Linked DNA regions of Homo sapiens: regions 1, 2, 4, 5 and 6 are each linked to region 3. The links are contacts of gene promoters, found by promoter capture Hi-C in blood cells and fetal thymus (Javierre and others, 2016). All regions are on one chromosome and are shown on one strand. The core of a region is centred on a gene start or on the middle of the fragment in contact, and the rest is flanking DNA. Distances in the headings are between cores, read along the strand shown.

Evidence for each region. Contacts are between HindIII fragments. The CHiCAGO score rates a contact against its expected background, and 5 or more counts as called.
Region 1: a fragment that was not itself captured here is called in contact with the fragment with the promoter of CWF19L2 in region 3 in 6 of 17 cell types (naive CD4 T cells, non-activated CD4 T cells, naive CD8 T cells and 3 more); the score reaches 8.1 in naive CD4 T cells.
Region 2: a fragment that was not itself captured here is called in contact with the fragment with the promoter of CWF19L2 in region 3 in 3 of 17 cell types (fetal thymus, total CD4 T cells and naive CD8 T cells); the score reaches 7.4 in fetal thymus.
Region 4: a contact is called between a fragment that was not itself captured here and the fragment with the promoter of CWF19L2 in region 3, in 1 of 17 cell types (non-activated CD4 T cells). The highest score is 6.0, in non-activated CD4 T cells.
Region 5: a contact is called between the fragment with the promoter of FDXACB1 here and the fragment with the promoter of CWF19L2 in region 3, in 4 of 17 cell types (total CD4 T cells, naive CD8 T cells, non-activated CD4 T cells and 1 more). The highest score is 14.5, in total CD4 T cells.
Region 6: a fragment that was not itself captured here is called in contact with the fragment with the promoter of CWF19L2 in region 3 in 1 of 17 cell types (fetal thymus); the score reaches 7.2 in fetal thymus.

What each region holds. Positions count from the first base shown.
Region 1 is chr11:103,095,496-103,098,195 of GRCh38, forward strand. No RefSeq gene overlaps it. Among named protein-coding and RNA genes, the nearest start is that of DCUN1D5, 4.7 kb to the left of the region's middle. The HindIII fragment of the contact is 8,986 bases long and covers 1-2,700 here.
Region 2 is chr11:112,227,214-112,229,913 of GRCh38, forward strand. PTS (6-pyruvoyltetrahydropterin synthase) reads left to right here. Exons shown (of 6, transcript NM_000317.3): 2 at 1,381-1,460. Among named protein-coding and RNA genes, the nearest start is that of PTS, 2.1 kb to the left of the region's middle. RefSeq lists a silencer at 1-147. The HindIII fragment of the contact is 1,163 bases long and covers 695-1,857 here.
Region 3 is chr11:107,456,406-107,459,105 of GRCh38, forward strand. CWF19L2 (CWF19 like cell cycle control factor 2) reads right to left here and starts at 1,420. Exons shown (of 18, transcript NM_152434.3): 1 at 1,307-1,420. The coding sequence starts at 1,411. RefSeq lists an enhancer at 1,199-1,704. The HindIII fragment of the contact is 1,493 bases long and covers 696-2,188 here.
Region 4 is chr11:103,072,381-103,075,080 of GRCh38, forward strand. The region is part of intron 4 of DCUN1D5 (defective in cullin neddylation 1 domain containing 5); the gene reads right to left. Among named protein-coding and RNA genes, the nearest start is that of DCUN1D5, 18 kb to the right of the region's middle. The HindIII fragment of the contact is 5,346 bases long and covers 1-2,700 here.
Region 5 is chr11:111,877,894-111,880,593 of GRCh38, forward strand. It overlaps FDXACB1 (ferredoxin-fold anticodon binding domain containing 1), which reads right to left and starts at 1,272. Exons shown (of 5, transcript NM_138378.3): 1 at 1,068-1,272; 2 at 663-819. The coding sequence starts at 1,239. It overlaps CFAP68 (cilia and flagella associated protein 68), which reads left to right and starts at 1,648. Exons shown (of 4, transcript NM_022761.3): 1 at 1,648-1,712. The coding sequence starts at 1,668. RefSeq lists enhancers at 940-1,559, 1,056-1,525. The HindIII fragment of the contact is 2,066 bases long and covers 1-2,054 here.
Region 6 is chr11:112,082,327-112,085,026 of GRCh38, forward strand. NKAPD1 (NKAP domain containing 1) reads left to right here. Exons shown (of 6, transcript NM_018195.4): 6 at 139-2,700. The coding sequence ends at 646. TIMM8B (translocase of inner mitochondrial membrane 8 homolog B) reads right to left here. Exons shown (of 2, transcript NM_012459.4): 2 at 2,474-2,700. Among named protein-coding and RNA genes, the nearest start is that of TIMM8B, 3.1 kb to the right of the region's middle. The HindIII fragment of the contact is 989 bases long and covers 806-1,794 here.

The sequences.
Region 1 (2,700 bases), core at 112-2,611, 4.4 Mb before region 3:
CTGAATAGGGAAGTAATTAAGCAAGAAGACTGAGACCCAGTTCTATTATCTATTTGGCATCTTGGTCACATATACATCCCTTAGCTTTTGGGAGTTATAAAACAAAGCCATGAAAAACATCTTTTAAAATAGTTATATCTCTGTCAAGGTATCCAAAAATAGTACTCTAAGATGTGTTAATTTATATATTCCGTACATAGTTTAGTTTTTCTTAACACCTCTTTAAAATAGGACTTTCCTACTTGGGAGAATAACAAGCAACACAGACATTAAGTGATTTATGGGATGCCGCGTTATTGTGGTCCTGGATCTGTGCAGATGCTCTCCCTTCCATATATTAATGTTGATTTTTAAAACAGCATTGTAGTTAAAAATTTTCTGAAATGTTTTCATGCACATAAATCTACAGAAAGATAACTCTAAGAGAATAGTAGAAATGGGATGTCAAGACAGGATTTTTTGTTTTGGCATTTCAGTATAGCCTACAAGAACTCCTTGTGTTTTAGAGAGGCCCAGAGGTGCAGAACTGTGTAACACATGACACTTACCCCCTACACCCTAAAGCGGTGTGCCAGACCACATCAATTTTAGCTTGGCTGTGACTGTGGTTCACTCTGGGATCTAGACTGAGGGAACAGTCACTACCTAGAACACTGCTTGTCATCATGACAGAGAGAAAGAACAACATGGTAAATCCCATGCTGCCTCTTGAGGATTCTGCCCCGAAGTGACACATTAATCCTGTTCAAGTCATATGGCTACACCTGAGGTCACGAGGGCAGGAATGTATGATCCCCCTGCAGAGAGAAACATCAAGTAAAGGTAAATACAGCCTACTACAGTAAGAGACTGGACTGAAATTTTGTTCAAAGCATAGGGAAAAATGAGTTCACAGTGCAGTTTTAAAGAGGCAGTAGGAAAAAGCATAAGATTGGTTTCAGCTTATACCTCACCGTGGCAGTTTATATTCTTCAAAGGTGGTCACAGCAATATCTCTCATCCCACATATTCTAGAAACTTACCATTTCCTATCAAAAAGTGAAGTCTAGTTGAAAAAAAAAATCAATATTGGTTCATTCATTGTGGGAAATGTACCATACCAATGTAAGACATTAGTAATAGGGGAAACTGGGTGTGGGATATATGAGCAGTTTCTGTAGTATCATTGCAATTTTTCCACAAAATTAAAACTCTTCTAAAATAAATTATTAAAAAGTCACAGTGAATGGGAAAAAATAAAATTTAGAAAATAGTAAAGTACAGGAAGAAAGAGTAATGATTCAAAGGAGCTGCCTAGGTTGGATGCTTTTGGAAAGGTAAGAATCGAAAAAATTCTGGATGTGGGATCATAGGTAGAAAGCAATGTCTTGTATATCAGCTGGCCAAGGACAGAGCAATTTCAACTTGAAACCTAACCAGGAAGACTAAGAACAAGTGCTCAGGTGGGAAATTGTATTAAGCAGTACACCTGATTTGCTTTCCCATATGTGAATATGTACCCCAAATGAAGAAAAGTAGTTCAGGCCAGGTGCCGTGGCTCATGCCTGTAATCCCAGGACTTTGGGAGGCCGAGGTGAGTGGATCACTTGAGGCAAGGAGTTCGAGACCAGTCTGGCCAACATGGACAAAACTCTGTTCCTACTAAAGATACAAAAATTAGCCGGGCGTGGTGGCGCATGCCTGTAATCTCAGCTCTGCGGAGGCTGAGGCAGGAGAATCTCTTGAACCTGGGAGGTGGAGGTTGCAGTGAGCCAAGATCATGGCACTGCACTCCAGCCTAGGTGACAAAGCAAGACTCTGTCTTAAAAAAAAGTAGTTCACAGAACCAAAATTACTGGCAGAGGTTGTATTGTTTTGATGACTTGCTGAAGAGAACTCTCTTTTTGTTTGGATGAGATGGTAGAGAAGACCAAAATTGAATGGAGACAGCTTGCACTGGGTATGTTCTTAAGTGTAGTTTCCTAATTTTGGTATTTGCTGAATAGGCATTTATCACACTATACACTTCCAAGACTTAACATTGGAAAGTGGCATAGTGTAAAGGGTTTGTTAAAATAAGAACCACCATTAGACTGATGAATTTCCTTTTTAACTTTGCAAACTTGATAAAACATTTAACCATGTTGTGACTCAGTTTTGTTCTTTGTAAGATAAAATAATAATACTTGCCTTGTCTGACATCACAGCATTGTGGTGTTGAAAAAAATGAGAAAATAAATGTTAAATAAATGTTTTGATAACAATGTTATCAAAATTGCTAAAGGGTACAAAACCACGTATCAGTTGAGGTCTTTAGAGTACATTAAACAAAAATCAAATTCTATATTTAGCAAGAGGATATATTTTGAAGCATTTTACAGAATCAAAGGAAGGCGTTGCAATGAAGGAGATACGTAAAAGGAGTGAGTTGTCTTGGTTTTTATCCTCACCCAAATTCTGATAATGGAGCTTTCTTATCTATATCACTACCACCTTTTTGATGACTTCATCTTTAGTTGCAGGGATATTAACAATAACCATGTTTTCAGCCATTGAAAATAGGGTCATCTACACTGGGCAGTTTGAATGGGATTCAGCAAATTCTTGGGCCATGGCTATGCATGACTTCTTTGGAAAATCCATAGGTAACATGTGAGCAGTTATGGAAAGCCACTGGTGAGGACCACTCAGCACAGAGAAGATCAGTTCACATGATTGCAG
Region 2 (2,700 bases), core at 26-2,525, 4.8 Mb after region 3:
TCGTCGTCTGTGAAATGAGGATGACCATCGCTATCTAACAGGATTCATCCCTCCATTCGCTAAACCAGGTTTTGTTTCGTGCTTGTCAGGGCTTGTGCTAGGTAACGGATGCATCAGGGATCTTGTATGGGGTTTCCAATCTGGCCTATTTTGTGGAGGGTACACTGAGAAAATTTTGTGCAAAAGACTTTAGCACTCTAAATACAAGAAGTGGCTGAGCAGGAGAAAGTGGGGGTGTGTTATTCCATTTTGCATTGCCACAAAGGAATACTGAGACTGGTATTTTATAAAGAAAAGAGGTTTATTTGGTTCTGCAGGCTGTACAAGAAGCATGGCACCAGCATCTGCTTCTGTTGAGGCCTCAGGGACCTTCCACTCATGGTGGAAGGCGAAGGGCGAGCAAGCAGGCAACTCACAGGGCAAGTGAGGGAGCAAGAGAGAGGAGAGGAGGTGCCAGGCTTTTTTTAACAACCAGCTCGCCCATTGACTAATAGAGCGAGAACTCACTCATTGCTTCAGGGAGGGCACCAAGCCATTCATAAGGGATCCACTTCCATGAGCCAAACATCTCCCACTAGGCCCCATCTCCAACACTGGGGATCACATTTCAACATGACAATTGGAGGGGACAAACATCCAAACTACATTGGGGGGAATAATAAAGAGGATCTCAAAAAAAAGGGGTTGTATAATAAGCTTAAACACCTGAGGGTGGTAAGGTCTCATAGACGATGCGAAATTGAATGGATGGGTATAAGTATAAACATTAAGCAATTTGTTTTCTGTCTGAGACGACAGCCAAAGATTGTAATTTTAAAAATTCACCTGCTTGGAATATTCCTCAACAGATTGGTAAAGTTCTCATGAGGCAGTAGTTGAGACATAGTATAAAGCAAGATTGCTAAATAGGAGACTTACCAGGTCATGTAATTTTTTTAAATTATTTTTTCTGGATGAGTAGTTTAGCTTCTGAGAGAAATGAGATAGTAAGCCACTTTGCGGATCACCATCTATGTTTATCATTATATGCTGTTATTTCATTCAGCACTTGCCTGTTACATTGTAGGCACTCAGTAATGTTGAATTGAAAAGTGGAAGGCCCATGAGCAGATCAGTTGCTGTGGAACAAGGGGGTTGAAGTTAAGGTTTGTTTGTGCTAATTTGTATGGTACAATCTTCTAATTAGGGAATATGCCATGGTTTGTGACGTATACGTAAGTAATAAAATCAACATGATTTCTGACTCTCCCTTTGGTGAGCTAAAGTAATAAATTGGGAAACTTTTCAAAGATCAGTACAAATAATAAATATAAGGAACAGAGAAGGGGGTTTGAATGTGATACTTGTGTCATGCTGACTTTTTTTTTTTTTTTTGGTCAGTAAATTTCTAAGTGATGAAGAAAACTTGAAACTGTTTGGGAAATGCAACAATCCAAATGGCCATGGGCACAATTATAAAGGTGAGAGAAAAACTGATGACATTTCAGCCCTTCAATAAGGATGAAAGAGTATTCAGCAAATGTAGACATAAAGAATGGGAAAACTTACGGACACAGTGTGAATGCTTTGAGCCTTGAATGAGAAATTAAATGGGAGTTCAGAATGAAAGGATCTGTTGTCTTGGTTGGGTGTGTGTTAAGTTTTACCTTGCAATGTCAACTCTTACAAACAGTCCAAAACAATGAATGGTTTAAAGCATTTTTCTTTGTCCTAGAGTACACAACAAGTTTCTTTCTGATTAGGTATGGCCAAGGCTAATGTTAAAATTAGATTTTATTCTTTGAGTAAATAATGACTGACAAAAGGGGAATGTTGCCTAGGAATGTAATGTATGGCAGAAAAATAGGTTTGGTCTAAAGCTTTGCCAGCAGTGTTCGAAGAAAGTAGGTAATTTGTTCAAGGATAAGAGACTTGATTCTTTGAGGTACAGCCTGCCTTAAAAAACAGGTACATAAGTCGTAGAGTATAAAACAGTATGTGGTGTGGTGGCATAAAAAAAAACAGACAAGGTGTCAGGAGATTAGGATTACTGGTTTAGCTACAGCCTCTTCCTTAATCTATGGTATCTCAGTCTCAGTGTACTCACTTACATGTAATATCTAATGGTATTTGTACAGAACTAAAATACATAAATTCATAAAAGTTATTAATGTGTAAAGCACTGATAAAGTTTTTTTTTGTTGTTGTTGTTTTTTTTTTTGAGATGGAGTTCCACTCTTTTTGCCCAGGCTGGAATGGTGTGATCTCCCGTCACTACAACCTCCACCTCCCAGGTTCGAGCGATTCTCCAGCCTCAGCCTCCCGAGTAGCTGAGATTACAGGCGCCCGCCACTATGCCTGGCTAATTTTTGTATTTTTAGTAGAGATGGGGTTTCACCATGTTGGCCAGGCTGCTCTCAAACTCCAGACCTCAGGTGATCTGCCCGCCTCGGCCTCCCGAAGTGCTGGGATTACAGGCTTGAGCCACCACGCCTGGCCAAGATTTTTCAAATGCTTCTCACAAGCACTTTTTAATTTACAAAGCATTACTTTAGACTTTGTATACATTCATGTGAGTAAGGGGACAAGAATTTAAGGCCCAGTAGTATTGCTTGTTCAGAAAGGTACTGCTCAGTATTGGACCAGCTTGCTGTGTAGCTGGACACCTGAAAGACATTTTCTACTTCTACAGGCAGAGACTGAGCAGCATCTTGATGCTCC
Region 3 (2,700 bases), core at 170-2,669:
CCCTCCAAAAACTGCTGGAAATACCAAAGAGAAAAGAATGAATAATATATATATACCCACACACACACATTACATATGTTGAAATTACGAAACAATACCAACATTTCACCTACCCAAGACTAATCGCCCACTCTTCCCCTTTAAAACCTGGCTGTAGTCATTTTCTTTTTTTTTTTAATCAAATATAAAAATAATTTATTAAAGGTTTATATCAGAGAACTGCTGAAGCAACAAGAACTAGAAGAGTTAATATTCCAGAAAAGGGAAAATCATGGAGAGGTAGTCCAACATTCTGCAGCTAGCTTTTCCCTGGGTGCATATAATAATTCTTGGTGTAGGCAAGAAGATGAATACAATGGTTATATACCAAACAGAAAAATCGATATCAGAGAAAAGAGCAGGGCTTATGATGGACTCCAAAGAACAGGGTGAGAAAATTGGAGATTAAAGGAGAATGGGGCTGCTTCACCCTCAAATTATTTGCCAAATTTTGAAACTATGTCATTTTCCCTTTAGAGTCTCCTCTCCCTCTTCTCTGCTGGCTCCTTCTCATTTGCATTTAAACTTGTTTAAAACTCTTCCAACTTAAATAAAAACAAAAACCCTCACTGAATTCTCTGTTGCTCTCCAACTGCAACTTTTCTCTTTCATTGCCACACTTCTTACATATTGAATAGATTGTCAGATAATTCAGAAGCTTACTTTCTCCATTCTTTGTATGTTACCTCTATGTATCTGAAGTTTAGTGAGAAATACAATGTTTCGCGATCTTTTGTGACAGGCTAAATATACTGAGATTGGTGTTAACTTTTGTTTGGATTGGTAAGAGCTTACAGTAAGTCTGGAATTGATACCAATAGAGACAGGAGGAGGAAATGTCAAACTGAGTCTATTCAAGTGTGACTTGAATGTGTTTCCGAAAAAGGAAAATCTCATTTCAGATACAGCAGTAGCAATGACTGAGGCTGCGAGACATGCTGGCAGAGTCCTTACAAGCCGCAGGGGACCTACAAAGTGTGCAGTCCGAGTGATAGAAATGTAAAGAATGGGTAACTTAAAAGGTAAAGAAACTTGGAGAAAAAGCGACAGATCTGCCTGAAAAGAGAATTAGCAACTGGCACCTGCCAGAACATCTAAAAAATCGGTAGCTACAAAAGGGTTTACCGGCATTGCAAAGGGAGAACTCACCCAAATTAAGGTGAGATTCAGTACTGACGAGGTAAGGGAAGGGGTGAGTGGGCTAGCTTACGGGAACCCTCAACTCCCACAACAATAAATAACTACAAAAGCCCCAAAACAGAGGTACCTGGCGCAACACCTCGGCCCTGGCATTCCGGGTCTGTTCTTTCCGCTCTTCGATACTCTTCGCACTTTCAAATCTACCACTAGCAGCCGCCATACTTGTTGCCATCGTAAAGCTAAGAAGCCGCAAGAAAATTCTAGTTTACGACGGTCGTAATTTAACAAACAAACCGGGACTTCCGGACCCGAGGAAGGAGGAGCACGGCTCCACCAACAGGGCATGCGCACATCTGAGGTCGCTTAGGGCTCGGATTACCGCAGCCCAGATTTTAAAGACCCGAAGGGTGTTGGAGGGTTTAATTCTTTCAGGTGTTGGGTGCGATTGTGAGCAGGATTAATACCCGTATATATTTATTATGCACTTTTTACTATATTAACAGCTTTCTCACCAATTTCGTCTTAAAATCACCGGAGTAAGTTACAAGCTCTTGGAAGTTAAGTTGGTACCTCTCAAAAGTTTTCTGCGGAAGTACCCTTTGTCGCCAGAGCATCATTTCCCTGTGCTGGAGGAATGGGATAAAGGGAGGCTGCCAGAAAGGTAGTGGCAGCTGGCAGGAAGGACAGAATTGCCTTGAAGATTCAGTGTTTTGTTTTGGTGGATTTTACTTAATATATGAAACACTCATGTGAATTTTGCATTGCACTTCACAATTTACCCGTGCTTAACTTGTTAGAAGTTTACATTATATTTTTTCCTCTGACCCCATATTATTTACTCATACTTATCCATCCAAGCATTTTTCATTACAATGGACAGTTACTTATTTATTTCTGCGGAGATTTCTTTGTTTTGTTTTACGCATGTATCGCCCAAACATAAAACTTTTAAGTTCAGAAGAATAAGACATTCTAAGGTGATGAAGTGCTTTGAGAACATAAGACACTAAGCTTACATTTACAAGAAGAAGAAGGCTGGGGAATTAATTATAAACGATACCTTAAAGACGCTAAAAATAAGTAACATAAGCCAGGTTGAGGTAAATACTCTTTCTCTTCAGGTTTCATAAAATTTAATGTGTGTTTGCAAGAAGCTTTCCAAGAGTTTTTACATTCACTACCATTCTATGAGTCTGAATCTTGAACACACAATGCCTACTTGTTTGATATGCAATAGAAAGTATTCATTTTATTTTAAAATGTAATTTACTAATCGACCTTGTAATATTTAATCAACTGACTACATTGACTGATATTTGTCATAACTAGCATCAACGTCTTTTCAGATTCTCTTGGAATTCAGAAAAACATCCATTTCACTGTTTTGCATCAATTCAATAAAAATAAACTGTGATTATATTAGAAACGTGTGTGTTTTAATCAGTTCAGGCTGCTATAACAAAATATTATAGAATGGATGGCTTATAAATAACAAACAAGTATGTCTTACAGTTCTGGAGG
Region 4 (2,700 bases), core at 175-2,674, 4.4 Mb before region 3:
TACCATTTGACCCAGCCATCCCATTACTGGGCATATACCCAAAGGATTATAAATCATGCTGCTATAAAGACATATGCACACGTATGTTTACTGTGGCACTATTCACAATAGTAAAGACTTGGAACCATCCCAAATGTCCATCAATGATAGACTGGATTAAGAAAATGTGGCACATACACACCATGGAATACTATCCAGCCATAAAAAAGGATGAGTTCATGTCCTTTGTAGGGACAGGGATGAAGCTAGAAACCATCATTCTGAGCAAACTATCACAGGACAGAAAACCAAACACTGCATGTTCTCACTCATAGGTGGGAACTGAACAATGAGAACACTTGGACACAGGGTGGGGAACATCACACACCGGGGCCTGTCGGGGGGTGGGGGGAGGGGGGAGGGATAGCATTAGGAGATATACCTAACATAAACGACGAGCTAACGGGTGCAGCACCAACATGGCACATGTATACATATGTAACAAACCTGCACGTTGTGCACATGTACCCTAGAACTTGAAGTATAATAATAAAAGAAATAAAAGATATATAGATCAGAAAAGAGAAATAAACTGTCCCTATTTCTAGATGACATGACTATGTAGAAAATCCAAGGTCTATACAGAAAACATCTTAGAACGAACAGGTGAGTTCAGCAAGGTCACAGGATACAAGATAAACATATAAAAATCAATTGTATTTCTATATATTAGTAATGAACATGTGGACACTAAAATGTAAAATACCATTTACAACAGGTTGAAGTAAAAATAAAATACTTAGGTGTAATTCTAACAAAAGATGTACAGGACGTATATGCCGAAAACTACACAAAACTGATGAAAAAAATCAAATACCTAAAAAAATGAAGAGACATTACTATCTTCCAGTATTCAAAGCAAGACTGACAAAAAAAGAGAGAAGACAAAAATTACCAATATCAGGAATATTAAGAGTATTCAAAGACTCAAAACAGTAAAAATGTCAATTCTCCCCAAATTTATATGCTATTTAACCAAAATCTCAGCAAGATATTTTTGTAAAGAAAAGACTATTCTAAAATTTATATGGAAAAGCAAATACACTAGAATACCTAAAACAATTTTGAAACAGGATGCATAAGTCTACCTGATTTCAAGTCTTAGTATTTAGCCACAGTAATCCAGACTGTGTGGTACTGGCAGAAGGTTAAGACACATCAGTGGAACAGAGAACCCAGAAATAAATGTACACAAATATGTCCAACATTTACATAGCTTTTACAGAAATTAATTCAAAATGCACCACTGACTTACATGTAAAATTTAATAATGGAAGGCTTCTAGAAAAATACATGAGAAAATTCTCATGATATAAGGCTAGGCAAATAATTCTTAGACTTGACATCAAAAGTACAATCAAAAGTACATCAAAACTGAGGCGGGGGCTCATGTCTGTAATCCCAACATTTTTGGAGGCTCAGGCGGGCAGATCACTTGAGGTCAGGATTTTGAGACCAGCCTGGCCAACATGGTGAAATCCTGTCACTACTAAAAAATAGAAAAATTAGCCAGGTATGGTGGCACATGCATGTGTGGCTACTCGGGGGGCTGATGTGGGAGGATCGCTTGAACCCAGGAGGTGAAGGTTGAAGTCAGCCAAGATCGCAGCACAGGTTGCAGTGCAAACTGTGAGTGAGACAACTCACTGGAGTGCAACAGAGTGAGATTCTCAAAAAAAAGTACACTCCATAAAAGGAAAAACTAATAAACTGGACATCATCAAAAACTTTTGCTCTGCAAAAGACCTTGTTACAGGAATGAAAGAAGTTATAGAATGTAAGAAAATGTTTGCAAAACACACATTCAACAAAAGACTAGTATCAGCAAACTCTGAAAATTCAACAGTAAAAAAATTTATCTTCCATGTTCGTTAGCATCTCTTTCACATTCCCCTTCTGCCTCTCTGCACTAATCTCCTTAGATATCGTAGATCACTGATCCTTACAAGTCAACTACATTATCTTCTTTCTATCTCATCTGCTGAGTGTTTGTTTGTTTGTTTGTTTTGAGATTGAGTCTCGCTCTGTCCCCAGGCTGGAGTGCAGTGGTGCAATCTCAGGTCACAACCTCCACCTCCCCGGTTCAAGCGATTCTCCTGCCTTAGCCTCCCTAGTAGCTGGGACTATGGGCGTGCACCACCACATCCAGCTAATTTTTGTATTTTTAGTAGAGACAGGGTTTCACCATGTTGGCCAGGATGGTCTCAATCTCCTGACCTCGTGATTGGCCCATCTCAGCCTCCCAAAGTGCTGGGATTACAGGCGTGAGCCACCATGCCCAGGAGTTTTTAATCTGCTGTTTTTCACTTTCAGAAATTTAATTATTCGGAGTCTGATATCTGAGACCATTCTCTTTTCTGTAACCACAGAGTTGTCTTATGCGGAAATTGTGATAATTCATAAATTAATCTTAAAGGGTCTGATTCTCAAGTTCATTTTTTAAGATTGATTTCTCAATGTTTAGTGATTTCTGATTATAAACTAGTGATCACGGAACCTTTTTCTGCAAAAATTGAGGTTTGTGTAAAATTTCTCTATGGAAGAACTGCTTCCATTACAAACAGGGGAGTCTTATTCTAAAACACATTTTTGGCTTGGGTCAGATAGTGAATTCCAGCCCCAAATCTGCAAGACAGAAGATGGAGGACGAGGAATTCTCTC
Region 5 (2,700 bases), core at 22-2,521, 4.4 Mb after region 3:
ATAACAACTGTTGGCCGGGCGTGGTGGCTCATGCCTGTAATCCCAGCACTTTAGGAGGCCAAGGCAGGCGGATCACAAGGTCAGGAGATCGACACCATCCTGGCTAACACGGTGAAACCCCATCTCTACTAAAAATACAAAAAATTAGCTGGGCGTGGTGGCGGGCGCCTGTACTCCCAGCTACTTGGGAGGCTGAGGCAGGAGAATGGCGTGAACCCAGTAGGCGGAGCTTGCAGTGAGCCGAGATTGCACCACACCACTGCACTCCAGCCTGGGCGACAGGGCGAGACTCTGTCTCAAAAAATAAAAATAAATAAAAATAAAAAAATAACAACTGTTAAGTGGTGGGCTGGGATTTGAATCCAGGCAGTCTGGCTTCTAAGTGCACGTTCTTAGCCATTAGACTATATGGCTCTCATTATTTTGCACTGTCAAAAATAAATGATCCTCTTTTACACACCCAAGAGTACATTATTTGTACTTTCATTTAGCATTTAGGGTTTATATATCTGTCTTTCCAACTAAACTTGGGGTTCCTTTGGGGCTTTATAGTCTCTTCTAAACATATCATAGTAGCTTGCACGTGTGCCTTATGTTTGGGTACAGTAACTATGTTATGGACATCTTAAACATTTTCCTTGTGAGGGCGCTCCTTTCCTCACCTTTGGAAAAATTTGGCAAGCAGTTCCCTGTTCTTAGCTACGCCAGCTTTGCGTCCACAATGCGGGAAGATGAAATAAATTTGATCAAATTCTCTCTCGTGCAGTTCAAAGACATCTGCCAGCTGGGTGCAGTCCACACCGAAACGTACATCGATACCTGGCAAAGATAGTTTGGGGGCGCAAAATATAGACAGGAGGATGCCTCAAGACATGGAACAGAAAAACTCTTCCTAACTTAAACCGTGCAGACCAGCCCAAGTCTGGGCACAAAGCCGGCTTTATGTGAATATCCGTGGGACGATCAAGAACAATCTCCACGTGGGTTACATCCCCACGCCCCCACCCTTTCCACTTTGGGACGCGCCGGCCGCTGGGCGGGGTTTCGCAGAGGGGCGGGCTCGCTACCTCGCTCGCGCAGGCACTGCAGATTCTCCCAGGCCAGTGGATCCCGAGCCAACTCGGCCGGGCGCTGGAGGCAGGTGGCGGTAAGTTGAGTGCTCTGATCCAGGGTTTCGCTCAGAGCGGCGGCGAAGGAGAAATTCCCCTCCCCAACCAACAGGAGGCGCCGAGGGGCCATGGCCTCCACGGACTCCCGGCTCGCGTTCTCTGTGGCGCTCGTTTTACGTCACTTCCTTCACGGATCTCTCTCCGCCCCGTCTTCTCCCGTCACTAGTTGATGACGCACCCATGGCGCCTGGTTGTCTAGACGAGCCGGTGTACCGACTCCCCGGTGGATGATAACTATGAGTGCAAAAGCAAGACGCGCACTTTCCTGTCACCTCGCCCTTTCACCCCCTCGGGAAGATCAAAGTGTCTTTAGCCCAAGCATGGCCTTGAGCGACTTCATCACACCTGCATGAGGTCACAAGCAGTCACTAGCGCAGGGGGGTGAGGCGAGTTCTGGGTGAAAGAAACGGGGCGGGGCTGAGGCCAAGGAAGAGGTTGGACTGTGTCTCGCATGCTCCTGACGCAGAAGGTTTTGAACCTTTTTTCACCTCGTCTGAAATGGCTGCCTCCCAGTGTCTCTGCTGCTCAAAATTTCTCTTCCAGGTGCTTAAATCTCCTATCTTCTATTCGTTCAAGAAAGAGTATTGAGTGTCTATTGCGTGCCAGGCCACTGTGAGGGTGGTTACGATATGTGGATGAACAAAATGTGGCCTATGATTTCAATGAGCCTGCAGTCTGGTGGGGAATGCACAGAGCAAAACAGGCAACTCTGATATGGCAGGGTGTGTGCTCTGGGAGCACACAGAAGAACGTTACCAAGTTTGGGGGCGAAGAGGGTCAGAGAGTCCTTGGATGAAGTAAACCCGAGTTGAAAGCTAACAGGGTAAAAGTGCATCTTAACTGAGTCAAGAGGCGTGAAGAGGCAGAAGGAACAATATATGCAAAAGCTTGATGGAGAAACAGAATAGTTGAGTTTGGCTGAAACACAATTGGAGGGAGAGTAACAGATGAGACTGAAGAGTTAGGCAGGGGCCAGGTCATAGGGAGCGTTGTAAGCCTTTAAAAAAAATCAACTTTTATTTTACAAATGGGGGTACAGGTACAGGTTTGTTACGTGGATATATTGCACCCAGGTAGGTTGCAGGTTTGCTACATGGGTATATTGCACCTAATAGTTTTTCAACCCACACCACCCGCCCTCCCCACTCTAGTTAGTAGCCTGGAGTGTGTGTTGTTTCCATGTTTAGGTCCATGTTTGCTCAATGTTTAGCTCCCACTTATAAGTGAGAATGTCAGAGGTATTTATACCAGAGCAACTCCGTCTTGAATAGGGGCTAGGTAAATAAGGCTAAGACCTGGGCTGCATTCCCAGTAAGTTAAGGCATTCTTAGTCACAGGATGAGATAGCTCAGCACAAGATACAGGTCATAAAGACCTTGCTGATAAAACGGGTTGCAGTAAAGAAGCCAGCTAAAATCCACCAAAACCGAGATGGTGATGAGAGTGATCTCTGGTCATCCTCATTGCTACACTCCCACCAGCGCCATGACAGTTTACAAATGCCATGGCAAAGTCAGGAAGTTACCGTATA
Region 6 (2,700 bases), core at 50-2,549, 4.6 Mb after region 3:
AAAGTGTTAAAGTATACATTAAAGTGCTTATTTAAAATTCAGATGTTAACCTCAATTTTTTAATCTAGAATGCAAAATATTAAAATAATACGCTTTTTTTTTACATAAAAGCTTCTATTTTTTAACTTTTCTTATTAGTAGTGATCAGCAAGATATTACCAACGGGAAGAAAACATCTCCCCAGGTAAAGTCATCTACCCATGAATCCCGCAAACACAAGAAGTCAAAGAAATCCCACAAAAAAAAGCAGAAAAAAAGGTCACACAAAAAACAGAAGAAAAGCAAAAAGGAAGCCACAGATATAACAGCAGATTCCTCGAGTGAGTTCTCAGAAGAAACTGGGGCTTCTGGTACAAGGAAAGGGAAACAACCACATAAACGCAAGAAAAAATCCAGGAAAAAGTCTCTCAAAAAACCTGCTTTATTCTTAGAGGCAGAAAGTAACACTTCACATTCAGATGATTCAGCATCCAGCAGTTCTGAGGAAAGTGAGGAAAGAGACACTAAGAAAACCAAAAGGAAAAAGAGAGAGAAAAAAGCCCATACCTCTGTAGCCAACAATGAAATACAGGAGAGGACAAACAAACGCACAAATTGGAAAGTAGCTACAGATGAAAGGTCTGCTGAGAGCTCAGAGGATGACTAAATGGGAAACACTTTTGTTTTCCACATGACTGTGGATATTTACAGTTCTTACTCCTTGTGGTTTTGCCAGTGACTCTTGTTCAGCACGGGGCCTGAGGTCAGAGCTGTCTTGTGCCATCTGTATGTTCTGACAGACGTCTTGTCTTCTATTTTGGCGTTAAGCTTGATCCCCTTTTCTTGTTAAAAGGGAATCTGGTATTTTGTTATGAAGGTTTCTTGAAGAGATTATTTTTTTTTGCAATTAATTACGTTTAGTGTAGAGTGCATATACAGCAAATTAAAGGACCCAGAAAGCTGGATCCAATAGTGACCTGGGTACACCAATCGGAATATTGAATTTGGGGAAGTCAAGGGCTGGGATCAAGAGGTGGATTGGAACTAATGCCATGTAGGATGGTATGACAAGGCAACACTGTATTGCTCTCTGTTTATATAGCAGGTGTCACAACTAACTTGTCTTTAGCCTTGGTGCTTTGATCCTTCTATATTTTGACCCCACAGGTGTGGTCCGGTTTACTTAATCAGGACATGGGCCTAAGAACAAACCTTTTCCCTTCATGATAACATCCATAGACAACTTATTAGAAGGGACTAGAGTTTTTGCAAATTTCCCTGCTGGATGGGGCCTATAGCTATACTTAGTATATGCCTAAACATGGTAATTGGATAGTAAATGGTTTTCTAGTTCCATTGCTGTATATTTGCCTAAATGGACTTGTGTTCAAATTATTTCTTCAATTGTCATAGATAATCCTGTACCAAATGGGGAAGAATTAGGAAATAATCATGTTGTCTAATGGTACTCTGGATTCAGGGCAGCAACTGCCATTTAAATGTTGTCTTGTTCATTTCTAAATCTGTTCATGAAGTTTAGGTTTTCCCTGAAACTAAGTTGAATTATTTCCAAAATGAAACAGGCTTCTCAGGGACATATCCACTTCTTCCCAGTCTGCCTTTGGATTAAAGCACCAAGCAGAGACCACATTAATTCCCTTTGCTATACTGTGATCCTTAGTATGTTAATTCTTAAGAAACCAACATATCACTGAAAGAAGGCTGGCAGAACGCAAGTGCATTTTTTCACTGTGGGAAGAAAGATCAAGTGACGTATTATTTTTTCCTGGTTGTCACTTAATGGGCTGAGTAAAAAGCTTGAAAACTCAGACTTTCGGTCTTGGTTCTGCCACTCATTGGTTATGAGGAGGCCCAGAGCAGGTAAGTTCACCTTCCTGGCCTTACTTTCCTGATGTGTAATACGGAATTACTTCACAGTAGCATGACAGTATAAGACACCAGCAGTAGATACAACTATGATGACATTCCATGAGTTGGTATTTTTAGTTCTAACTGCTAAATTTGTTCTCTTTACGGGACAGATTTCTAATAAAGTGCTTGGTCTTAAAATACATGGTTGGACAGAGGTGCCCTATCCCTTAACTATGAGCAGGTGCTACCTTTTGGGATATTTATTTTAAATTTTAATACTTTGGTACTCAATTGTCAGTGTTCCATGGTGTGTATTTTTATTTTTGGGATTAGTGGGGGTCTAAAGGGAGAAGAATAGTCTCTAATTACTACCTCTTAACCTAAAGCAATTATTTTGTTCCTGGAGCAAGTTAAATCTTTGTTGGAAGGAGCTTTGGCCATATATTTTTTAGCATGCATTGTTTCTGTGCCCTGAAAGTACCTGAAAGGTTTTAAGCACAGACTCAGGAAAATGTGCCAGTAGAACAGGCCATCTCCAGGAAATTGGCTCTATTTGGGTCCTGACCTTCCCTTCCTCCCAAGTTAGCAGGCTTGTTCTTTCGCAAGGAATACACATCTTGCCTTTTTTTTTTTTTTTTTGCCATGTTTTCCTTTTCTTGGTCATGTATAAGCAATAAAGCTGTTTTTTGTTCTTCATCTTTCTTAACCCCAAATTTTCTTCTATGCCTTAGGCTTCGATGGTTCTTCCAACCCCCTTAATATGGCTTAGGGTGGTTTTTCAAAACCTACAATCCCCCATTTGCACTACTGGCCATGGAACATTTATTTCTAGTGTTCCTGCCAATCAGA